2 separate regions of the Homo sapiens genome follow, and region 2 is linked to region 1. The links are contacts of gene promoters, found by promoter capture Hi-C in blood cells and fetal thymus (Javierre and others, 2016). All regions are on one chromosome and are shown on one strand. Each heading gives the region's core, a stretch centred on a gene start or on the middle of the fragment in contact. The rest is flanking DNA. Distances are from core to core; before and after follow the strand shown.

Region 1 (6,085 bases), core at 2,567-5,066:
GAGTGCTGCAAAGCTAAGCTGACTCCTGAGCAGCTGAATGCATCCCCTTCCAGGTTCCAATTCCATTTTTTCCTCTTTCCCATTCAGAGGTGAGCCGGGCTCCTTTGAGATGGGCAGAGAGGTATTTCCAGGACTGAGAAATCCTCTCTTTTACATTGGTCAGAGAGTGCTGCTGAAAGCCATTATTTGTGACTCATTACAGAGAAATCTCTCCACTTCCCAGAGAACAAGGCCCCATGAGCAGCAGACGCTAGGGACCAAAAATGGTATCTCTTTCTGGGACTGTGTCTGGCATTGGGCAAGTCCCTCAGGGTTTACCATTCTGTCTGCCTATATCCCATCTTTCTCTTATTTTTTGAAAGATATTTTAGCTTTTCTATTTCTCTTATGTCTATGTCGAAATGCTGATTCTCTATAATGAAAAGCTTCTTCAGAGTTATAGATCATGATAATCTCATTCGTGACAAAATATACATGCAACAATACATCACAGAACAAATTACAAATTATGATAGCTAATCCATCATAGAATTGATTGTATATAGGGATGGGGAAAAATCTCCAGAATATACGTAAACTTGCAAGGCTCTACTTTCATCAGTAAGACCAAAGACATCTAAAAAATGGAACAAGTTCTAAAAGTTGTCAAAGGTAGCTGTCATAATGGAAAAAGATTCTGGAGACTGACTTGAGTACAAAACTTCTCTCTGTCATCTACTAACTACGTGACCCTGGAAAGCTTATTTAACCTATGTGAGCATTGGTTTACGAATCTGTAAAGTGACAATCACATAGGTCTGCTGTGAGGGTTAAACTATGTAGGGCTATAAAATGCCCAGCATATGGTGAAGGCATACATAATAGTGTTAATTTAGTATCTTCTCCAGAATAAGTTTATATCTTTTGTATACAAAATTCATACTTACATAGTAGTGTTTTTTTTAATAAAGATTGACAGTTTCTGAAAACTTTTTGGCAAAAAGGAACATAAAAAATTCAGAGTTATCTATTTTTGCTTTAAAAATATCTTGGTTCAGTGAACTGTAATGTGATTTAATAAGTTAACATTCACGGTAATATGATATATACCTTTCAAAATAATTCAATTATTATTTGTTATTCTATTATCCTTGATAGTGAAAGAAAAAAATGTAAAGTTCCCCAACTCTGAAATTCTTCTACATTAGGATTATGTACACGCTCAAAAATAAATACTTCCTTTAATATATAGTATTCATCTATACTGAATTTAAAACATTCTTCTAAAACCATTTATCACTTTACTTTTAAAACCAAAAACAGGGGCTCTATCCAGTTCACTTTCAAGATGACAGGAAAGGTAAATGTATTTGGTCTTTTTGTCACTATTATCTCTACTTACTCTTCTGAGAATAAAATATTTTTCTGGATCATCAGGTGTTTGCTTACAGCAAGCAATTTTGTTTATTAAGGAACAAAACATATTCATATTCTGCTTTACTTTCTGGAGCTACACTAAGAAATCAGTCCATGAACTATAAAAACTTCCAACTGAAAGCCTATCTATTCCCGTATCTTACCCTTCAAACACAGCCTGTTTCTTTGTAGCTGAGCTTTTAATCTACTAATAACTAAAGTTTTAATGCAAGTGTCATTCATCTAACATAATTAATCAGAGTCAAAACAATGAGAAAGTGTAAGTAAACTAAGATATATTGGGAGAAAAATGTTCTTTAGGTCTCTGGCAGAGTGAAACTTCCAAAATATTTTCTAGAATTAAAATGATTTGATAAACATTTACAAAAAGAGCAGTGCCTCTTCGAAATTGAGGGAGTAAAAACGGCTATTCAGTGGGACACATTGTGGGTCCCACACATAAAATTTCTAGTAAAAGCACTTTTACAAACCTTGACTCTTGTCTGAGCAATCAACATGATGTATAAAGCAGCATACTTTAAAAAGCAAGTGCTTCAGGTGACTATTAAAACTTCACAAGGCTCATAGGAACATATGCATTTGACTAACTGGGAGGAGACGCTCCCGCTGTCCACTTGAAGGGCGGTGATCCAATTGCAGCAGGAAGGTTTAAGAAAGGGGTGCCGGATGCAGGCCTGAGATGATGCTTTCCCTGGCACAGGACCTCACATGTGCCATAATTTACCTCTCCACGTTTCTATTTCTTCCCGCCAGCCATTTGCTTCCAATGGTACCTCTCCACACCACCACACGTGATCGTAATTGTTTTTAAGTTATTGGGTTAGTTTTTTCTTTTGCCAAGATGAGATTTGGCTGGACATCTCCTTTCAGGAGAACTCTAAAAAGTACCCACTTTAGGTCTAACTTTTCATTGACTACTCAGAAAGCTTCTGGTGACAGGTATCATTTCTACCAAAAGTAAAGTCCGGGTGCAAGTCAGAACTCTTTCATCTTTGCTAAACCAGAGCGAGATGTTTTCTTTCGACTGTTTCATCTACTTAGAATTAATAGCATTTCTCCTCCCGCCTCCCGGCCCCCGCCCCCCGCTCCCCGGGTGGTGAACGCCTGAAGAGGGAGGCGTGGTCCCGCGCACCTTGTCTCCGGCCGCGCCACCGGCACTCACCTGGCTGCTGCCGTGCTCCTCGCCCGTCTCCGGGGCCCGAGACTCCGCGGGACTCCGCGCCGGCTCTGCGGGAGGAGGCGGCGGCTCCAGCAGCTGCTCCAGGCAGGCGGTGCCCGGCAGAGAGGAGCTCTTCTGGTGGCACAAGTGCGCCCCGGGGCCCTGACGCCGTGCACCCTCATCTCGGGCGCGGTCCCCCCTCGGGGGAGGCTGGGGCGAGGAGGACAGGGAGGATGAGGCGGAGGAAGAGGAAGGAGCTGAGTCGGGGGAGCGTCCGCCAGGAGGCGTCCCTCCCGCTGCTCCCGAGGCCGCCGCGGGCCCCTTTACGGCGGGGAGCAAATGCTCGCGGATCCGGCGGCGTAGCGTGGACCCCTGCTCGGCTCTGCCGGCGCCGCCGGGCTCCAGGGGCTCCGGCGACGAGCAGCACAGGTTGGGCTGCGAGGAGGAGAAGACTCGGTCCAGCACTTGCTTCCGCTTCTTGAAGCCGCTCCACCTGCTGCCTGCACCACTCCCCCTGGCCGGTGCATTCCCTGTGCCCACCGGGGGTGGCGGGGAGGGCGACGGGGTGTCCGCAGTGCGGCGCTCTGGACCCCCAGCGCGCCCGCCCCCGCCGCCCTTGCTCCTGCCCACCCCCAGCTGCAGGTTCTTCCAGAGCCGGGCCTGGAAGGAGGAGGACGCCGCCGGCGGCTCTGGCTCGCCCGCCGCGGCAGCCCGGGGCTCCATCCTCCACCCCCTGCTCCTCCTCTCCCCTCCTCCTCCTCCTCCTCCTCCTGCTTCTCCTCCCTCTTCGGCTGCACCTCCTCCCGGGTCCCCGCGGCGCTGGCGGTGGCGGCGGCGGCGGCGGCGGGCGCAGCAGCAGAAACCGGGAGTGCCCAGCGACTTCAGGCCAGCTCGGGGGAAAGAAGCGGCCGCCGCCGCCGAGGCTCTCTGGCCTCGGGACTCCGGCGCTGCCTCTTCCTCCCGCACCTGCTGGGGTGGGCTGGAGCCGTAACCGAATCCCGGCCGCGGCGCCTGCAAAGTTTTTCCCTCGAAGCTCCGCGGCTCCAGTCCACTGGCGTCCCCCAGGCCGCGCCCTGGCTCCCTCTTCTCTCTGACCGAGCTCGGGAAGCTGCACGCACCGGGGCGTGCGCGTCCAGCTGCGCCAGGGACCGCACCCGGCGCCCTCTGGGCAGCACCTGTCAGCGGCGGGGGCGGCTGCCTCCAAATTGGGCGCGCACGCGGCTCACACAACAAGGCGCGTCTGGCTGGAGACTCCGGGGACCAGCAGTCCCCCTGGGGCGCCCCGGGACCATCCTCCAGCTCCTAGGTGGGAGGGCCGGTAGGAGCCGGGTGGAGCTAGGTAGGGCCCGAAGCCAGCTTGCTCCCTAGGATCCGGCCACAGTTGCCCAGGCAGCTCGCTGTGCGCTGGCCGCTGGCCGCGCTGGCGATCGTCTGGGTCGGATGAAGCGAGCTGGAGTGGAAACTATGTGCCCTCGATGGGTCTCGTGGGGGCGCCGATCGTCCACACTGAGCGATGAACCCGACGGAGTTCTAAAGCTGAAGACGTCTGCCCCCGCCCCGTTGCGCTCCCTGGGTCCAAGACGAGAGTTTAATTTCTTCTGTCTTGACTTCATCCCCATCCACCCCTCCCTTTTCTTTATTTGCCTCTGCACTGGTCTCTTATGATCAGGTTCTAGCATTTCCGGAGTCTGACGATAAAGCCAGCCCTTAAGTTGCAGGGAGTTTACGGTGGACGAAGATGGGTGATGCGCACTGCCTTTGATCCGATTCGGCACGCACAGAATCTTGTTCTTTTCATTCAAGCGCATTTTTTCTTTGGTTACTTCATTTGCTTGTTGCAAGGCAAACGGAAAAGGCTTTTTAGCTCATTCAGACTTTGCTTCTCCCAAAGCTGCTCAGCCAGGGTCTTCTGATTCTGCTAGGAGAGACTTCTGAAAGGCCAGCAACACAATGCCTCTTTCGTCCTCCTAAATGGGGAAAACGGGAGAGTTCCCTAAGCTGCGGTAGCACACTGATCAGTCTTGTCTAGCTAGCAGTATGCTTTGGAGGTGTTACCAACCTAAGTTTTTTGTTTTGTTTTGTTTTTGTTACCTTTATAACAAATATTTATTAAGCACCTACTATATACCAGGCACTGTGATAGGCTCTGGGGATGCAGCTGTGAACAGGGCATCAGGGTCCCACCCACATGGAGCTTATTGTGAGGGTGAGGGTTGGGAGGTGATGCGAGACAATAAACAGAATTTCTAATATGCAAAAGTCCCATGGAAACAGTTAAGCAGGGTACCACATAACAGAGTGGCTACAGAGGAAGAGCTTCCAGACAAAATGCAGGACACCCAATTAAACTGACTTTCAGAGAAACAATGAATAATATTAGTATATGTATGTCCCAAATATTGCATGGGACATACTTATACTAAAATACTATTATTTATCTGAAATTTAAATTTAACTGGGTGTCATGTTTTTGTTTGCTAAATCTGGCAGCCCCATATGGAGAGGTTTTTGGTTTTTTACATTATGTGTACAGGGAGAGTCTCTCTGAGAAGATAAAATTTTGAGTTAAGACTTAATGAGGACAGAGAACCAGCTATTGACGGATCTGACTGTAGAATTTCAGGTAGAAGGAACAGCAGATACAGAGGTCCTGAGGCAGGAAGCAGCTTGACTGGGCATATTCAAGGACAGAACGATACCACTCCAAATAGAGTAGAGCAAGGTGGGTGGGGTTGGTAAGAGATGTAGTGAAACAAAAGGTCAGCTAAGGGAGTGGGTCCTATAGCCAGAGTGAGAGTCCATGTTTCCTCTAAATGAAATTGGGAGACATTAGAGGTCTTTTTTAATCGTGAGGGTAATGTGATGTGATTTACTAATACTAATGCCAGGTATTAATAAATAGCCTCACAGGGCTATTTTGAAGATTAAGTGGAAAAAGGACTTAGCTCAGTGCCTGTATATAGTTGATATTATTGTTATTTGGTAGACCCAGTATTTCCCAAGTATATGAATACTATGCTTTGGAAAAAGAGCAACGTGAATGGAGAAACACTGGGCTGCATTTAAATAATATTATTGAAATGACAAGATTATAGAGATGGATAGTGGTTGCCAGGGGTTAGCGGTGGGGCAAATGTAAAGGATCAGAATAAAGAAGTTTATTTGTTATGATGAGACAAATTTAGATTGTGGTGGTGGTTACATGAATGTGTGTTATACACAGGATAGGACTGCATAGAACTACATACATATATGAATGCACATAAAAACGTGACATCTGAATAAGATAAGTTGTACCAATGGCAATTTCCTGGGTCTTAATATTGAACTATAGTTATGTATGATAATATCATTGGGGGAAATTGGGTGAAGGTCACACAGGAGCTCTATGTAGTATGTTTGCAACTTCCTGTGAGTCCATAATTATTTTAAAATTTAAAGTATAAATAAAAGCAAACAATAATAAAGCATGTTTTTTTGAAAAAATTGTGTGCTGCTGAAAGTTTTCCT
Region 2 (6,085 bases), core at 3,586-6,085, 230 kb after region 1:
TTAGGAGTCATACAGCTGGAGGCTACAAGATTCTGACCCTCCCCAAATTGTTCCTGGGGATAACATCACTATTCAGAGCCTGCACTTGATGGATCAGCTGGCATCACCCAGATTGATAAACTGGCTCATCTGATCTTGTGGCCCCCACCCAGGAACTGACTGCGCAAGAAGACAGCTTCAACTCCCTATGATTTCATCTCCAACCCAACTAATCAGCACTCCCTACTCACTGCCTGCCCACCACCATCCACCAAATTATTCTTAAAAATGCTGATCCCCAAATGCTTGTTCGGGGAGACTGATTTCGGTAATAATAAAACTCTAGTCCTCCACACAGCCGGCTCTGCATGAATTTCTCTTTTTCTATTGCAATTCCCCTGTCTTGATATATTGGCTCTGTCTAGGCAGCGGGCAAAGTGAACCCATTGGGTGATTACCTATCTATGAAGGTAAAATGTAGAAAAAGAAATGTATCTGATCTAATGTACTTAAAAGTAGTAGTGGAAAGTAAGCCTTCAAATCCTTTAGATTATTTAACAAAGTACACTGTAACCATATCTTTTGTGATTGCTAGGTTCTAAGATCAACAACTAAGGTTAAAATCAAATAGTCAAAGTTATTCTTGAAAAATCCTTAAAGTCACAAAAGAAAGAGTCAACAAAATTGAGTCATAATAAGCATGAGGGCCAGGCACAGTGGCTCACGCCTGTAATCCCAACACTTTGGGAGTCCGAGGCGGGTGGATCACCAGGTCAGGAGATTGAGACCATCCTGGCTAATACCGTGAAACCCCACCTCTACTAAAAATACAAAAAATTAGCCGGGCGTGGTGGCACACACCTGTAACGCCTACCTGCTAATCGGAAGGCTAAGGCAAGAGAATGGCTTAAACCTGGGAGGTGAAGTTGCAGTGAGCCGAGATTGCGCCACTGCACTCTAGCCTGGGTGACAGAGCGAGACTCCGTCTCAAAAAATAAATAAATAAATACAAAATAAGCATGAGGAGATCCATGCCTTCACATGCCACACCCACCCTAAGGCAAACCCCCCCAAGTGCTGATGTTTGTAAATTAATTGCCTAGTCTAGTGCCTCAGGCTAAATGCATGCAGAGTGCCACAATCCCCACAATATCTACAGTGAGGCATTTTCTCTCCTGTTTTTCACAATTTATCTGATTCTTTATATTATTTGACTGCCAATATTTACTGTTTTCAGTACTCTTGCTTAAACTCCTTGCTTCTTTATTAGCATTTTGTCAAAAGTTAATGAAACTAACATTTCTTGAGCATCTAGGATATGCCAGGCACCCTGCATAACATTTTGTACAAATCATCTTGTTTAAACACTAAGCAATAAACACTTTCCTGTTGAGAATTTTGGTAGCATGCCCAAGGTTTCAGTCAAGGCTACTAAGTGGTGGAGCAGAGATTAAAACCCAATGGTAGTTTTATTAAAAAAGACGGAATTATTACAACAGATGGTTAATAAAATTTCACCACTCTGTCAACTTCCTAAACCTAAATGTATCTTTCCAATATCTTCAAGAAAAATCAGGTGTTAAGTGGGGAAGCTAAAGGCACTGGGTTTGGCACTTCATTTATATTATCTCATCTAGTTCTCACAACTCTACAATCCAGGTATTGTTATATCCACTATCCAGGGAGTAAACAGAAGTTAAGGGTGGTAAAACACTTGGCCTAAGACTGCAGAGAAAGTTAAAGGCAAAGCGAGAACAGCAGCAACTGTTCTAGTGTATAGTGTATAGTGGAGAGTGTATTAAAGCCTAATACACTCTACACTATAACAAGGAAATTACTTTTTTCTTGCATCATTAGGTAACAATTTTTATCTTTCTTCAAAAGCCTTTATTAAAGTTTACAAAGTAAAGACTGCTTCGCTGTTGCAAAAAGAAGGCAAATTCATGTCTTAAAGAATACCAATATTTAATTTGACATGAATTAATTTTAAAAATTATTTAAATTATTTCAATAGTTGCTCAAATATCTTGCTATTATATAACAGGTACCTTACCTACATATTTATTCAAAATAACTTGTGCTGCTGGAATAGCATTCATCTGGAGGATGTTGTACTGGTACAGCTCTGTTTCTCTGTTGCTTTTATCTTGCAATGTTGTGCAGACCCAATACGCATAACCTAATGCTCCTTCAGTCTTTAAAAAAGCCAACGTTAAGCAGACATAGGATAATAAATGTGTCAATAAAAATTATAATAAGAAGTAAAACAATGCACTTCAATACAATAAATATCACATCTCAGTGTTCTTTAAGTCAATTGTTAAAAGTACCTTTAAATGAAGGGTCACTATGATAAAACACAGCGAAGAACATATTGAAATTATTTGCTCCAATCCTAACGAGAAGAATCAAACGGGATAAAATGCAGAAAACAGAGCCTTGCCTGATGGGCTGGCTTTCCCTTCCTCAGCACCATTGCCAAAGGTCAGACCAAAAAAAAAAATGAATTCTACAACATTTTCATAAATAATCTAGAAATGTCTACCATGCCTACTCCTTATCTCATGTCTATCTTTTTCCTAGAGTCTCAGTTTCTATTCTATTAATATATGACTGCTACTATATCTATTAAATCTAAACATCATTTCTTCACCAGCTCTTGAAAGTTGTAGAAAAAAGAAAAATGGTAGTTCTTTAATTCGAGAAAACTAATCTGTTTCTAAGAAAGAATAAAGAATAAAAACAACTGATGTCATTAACATCTAATACCACTATCTATTCATTTTCTTTTTCCTTTTCTTAGAGACAGAATCTTGCTCTGTTGCCCAGGCTGGAGTGCAATGGCATGATCATAGCTCACTGTATCCTGAAACTCCAGGACTCAATCCTCCTGCCTCAGCCTCCTGAGTAGCTAGGACTACAGGTATACACCATCATACCTGGCTAATTTTTAATTTTTTTTTTTAAGAGACAGGGTCTTGCTATATTGTCCAGGCTGGCCTCAAGCAATCCTCCTGCCTTGGCATCCCAAATCACTGGGATTACAGGCATAAGCCACTATGCCTAGCCCAATATCTATTCATTCCCTTAACAAGGATAACACTTTTCTCATTAATGAATCCTCAAGAAGAATGTTCAGATTCTTACATGCATATTTAGTTCTGTAGTGTGCCTGAAGAGATCCATGGTGTCATAACTTCCAACTGCCTCAGCAATAAGAGCCTATAAAAGGAAAAAAACAGACTCTTAATGTGTTTAAAAGACAGTAACAATAATAATACAAAATGAAACTGTCTAGAAGAACCAAAGGTTTACTAGCTGAGCTTAAAAGCAAAGTTAACCTAAGTTTTTCACTTCTATTGTTATTATTTTAACTAAATCTTCCAGTTACCTGCTAAAATAAATTATTTTTAAAACCAAAAATACTTTTAAAATAAAAATTAAAAAGTGATTCTGATAATCATCTAAGATCTACTGAGCTAGAGCAGTACTACGCGAAGTGAGGTCCCTTGGACCAGCCTCATAATCATCACTTGGGAGCAGTTAGAATGCAAATTCTTGGACTCCCTGGGTTCAATGGCTGACACAGAGGCTAGCACAGTAACGCCACTGCTCCCAAATGCTACCACAGTGAATGGGAACAGGAGTTTGCCTTTCTAGCTCTGCTTGCTTCACCAATTAACTAGAATTAGGCCCAAGAGTCTAAAATACAACAAAAGATCTCTAAACCCTGATTAATAATTTTCTGATAAGCAACTGACTGCTTACTAATTCATTATAATTTCTCAACCAGGCAAGAACTTCGAGGCCACTCAGTCTAATCCCCTTCTTTTTCAGGTGAGAAAATTAAAATCCAGAAAAGTGATATGCTAAGGTAAAAAAAGAAAAAAAAATCAGTAGGTAACAGACTCAGACTAGTAACAAAGTATCCTGATTCCTATTTGGCAGTACAAAAATCTGAATTTGGGGGAGGAAAGAACACTCATAAACAAGTGACAAACCAAATATGAAGATTTTACAGAAACATAATATTCAAAATGATCTTTGTAAATGTGCATTTTCTTTGTACATGTGAGTTAAACAATAGAGTTCTGGGTTTATTTTTTAGGCACAGTAATGTCAGACTGGTAAGTGTTCAAAGGCCCCCCAAGTCAGAGTTAAATCCTTACAAGCTACGTGGCCTTAGGAATGACACTTAGGAGCTCTGAGTTTCTATTTCCACAACTATAAAGAGAGTATAACATCAACCATATCTCAAAGAATTGATGATTGATAGATTAACTGAAATAGTGTATACAAAGAGCTAAGCACAGTGACTGGCACAAAGTAAGCCCTCAAATGCTATCCGTTACCATTATTATCACTGTTATGCATATTAGTCAGTTATTGATATCAACAAGCTTATTAGTAACTATATGTTATATTTCTTACTTGTCCAATCCAGCACATTAAATAAGATGGATCAAGGGATTGAGCCATTTTGAAAGCCTCATGAGCTTGCTAGGAAAAAAAGGCAAAAAATATTACAGCAAGTCATTTTATAAACTTATTAAACCGCTTATGTTTAAAAAGCATAAAATAAGTCAAACCTCTCATCATAAATATGTATGAACATAAAATTTCACTGTTTAAGCATAATTAGCAATGCTTAAAGCAGTGTTTTAACTACACAGTTCTGGAACACTCCTGGGTGCAACAGATTTCTCCCCAGGTTAGGAGTTCTGAACCCTAGCAAAAAAGGGTTCTACCTTGTCATCTGCAGAACTTTTAACCAACCAATCATCCATCCATTAGATAGCCATAGGTTTGAAGGCAATGATTAAATAAGGCTATCTATTCCCCTTTTAGCTTAACTGGGAGGATAAGAACTCACAACCAATGAAGTCCTAACCAATGAAGTCCTAGACATGTGTATACCTGCTACCAGAGAAGGAGTGATCAACAACATAATTCTGCATTAAGCAATCAGGAAACTTCAAAAATATCTAATTTGGACACATTAACTTGGATGCTTTTTTTTCTGCTACAAAAAATAACTTTTTATTACATACTGCTTTATACTATTTTCTCAACAATCTATGTATGGCAGGAAACAGTCTTATTTTTCCTATTTTTAAAAAGTAAGCTCATGGGCAAAAACTATCCCATGCTACAATAAAACCACATCCATAGCTTATTAAGACATTGTTTTATTTAAATTAAAAAAAGTTCACGTATTTTAAAATCCAAATTAATATTTTCTTCAATCTATTTACAATTTTCTAAATCCAGTCTTTTTTGCAGGGACTTAATGTATCCTTGAGAATATTGAGAAAGCTTTTTGGGATGAGATTCAATATACCAGCTGAAACACAAAACAGTTCAGACATGGTATTACCTATAGATTTATGGAAACTTTCCAAACATGACCTATAAACATACTCCCAGTCACTTTAGTTCTAATTGCCTAATGTATAATTGCTCAAGTATGACAAATTACACTTGCTATTTAAAGAGATTAATATCTACTAAAGCCAAAATGTAAAGCATCCAAGAAAGGTTAAATTTAAGCTGCTAGAGAGTACTAACTGTCTCCCTTGTGCTCATCCACTCCACCTCCAACACTATCTACATAGGACTTCTCTTACATGTGTACAGATTTAAAAAAATGCTGAATTGATTCAGAATCAAACTGTTTTAATCTCTAAATGAAAAACCAACATAATCACAAAACCAGAAGTTTCTTGAAGGTCATAAAAAGGAAAATAAATCTTACACATTAATTATTCGACATAAATTGAATATCATCAATTAACTAGCATACTGGAGAGCATACTGGCTAGATAACGATGTGCAAAAACATTTCTCCACAAGAAGCTGAGCTATTGAGGAGACAATAATATAGAAAACATTCTTTGTTTTAAATATGACAGACAGGCAACATATTTACCTCAATGTTTTCATTTGTGAGGTATAACACTCCCAAGTTGGTCCATGCAACAGCATTCTAAAAAACATAACATTTTTTTTCTTAAAATAGGCCCCTTGTCTAGTTGAAAGTCTCAGAAAATTAGTAATACTAAATTTTGAAGTTCTTTTTCATAGACACATAGAATACTCACAATTT

The links. The method cuts DNA at HindIII sites, captures the fragments that hold promoters and counts their contacts. A CHiCAGO score of 5 or more calls a contact.
Region 2: a contact is called between a fragment that was not itself captured here and the fragment with the promoter of MCTP1 in region 1, in 2 of 17 cell types (megakaryocytes and endothelial precursors). The highest score is 9.6, in megakaryocytes.

What each region holds. Positions count from the first base shown.
Region 1 is chr5:95,281,278-95,287,362 of GRCh38, forward strand. It overlaps MCTP1 (multiple C2 and transmembrane domain containing 1), which reads right to left and starts at 3,817. Exons shown (of 23, transcript NM_024717.7): 1 at 2,579-3,817. The coding sequence starts at 3,298. RefSeq lists silencers at 2,906-3,025, 3,106-3,165. The HindIII fragment of the contact is 7,244 bases long and covers 2,341-6,085 here.
Region 2 is chr5:95,510,445-95,516,529 of GRCh38, forward strand. It overlaps SKIC3 (SKI3 subunit of superkiller complex), which reads right to left. Exons shown (of 43, transcript NM_014639.4): 24 at 6,081-6,085; 25 at 5,909-5,965; 26 at 4,411-4,479; 27 at 3,127-3,201; 28 at 2,033-2,174. Among named protein-coding and RNA genes, the nearest start is that of SKIC3, 41 kb to the right of the region's middle. The HindIII fragment of the contact is 916 bases long and covers 4,378-5,293 here.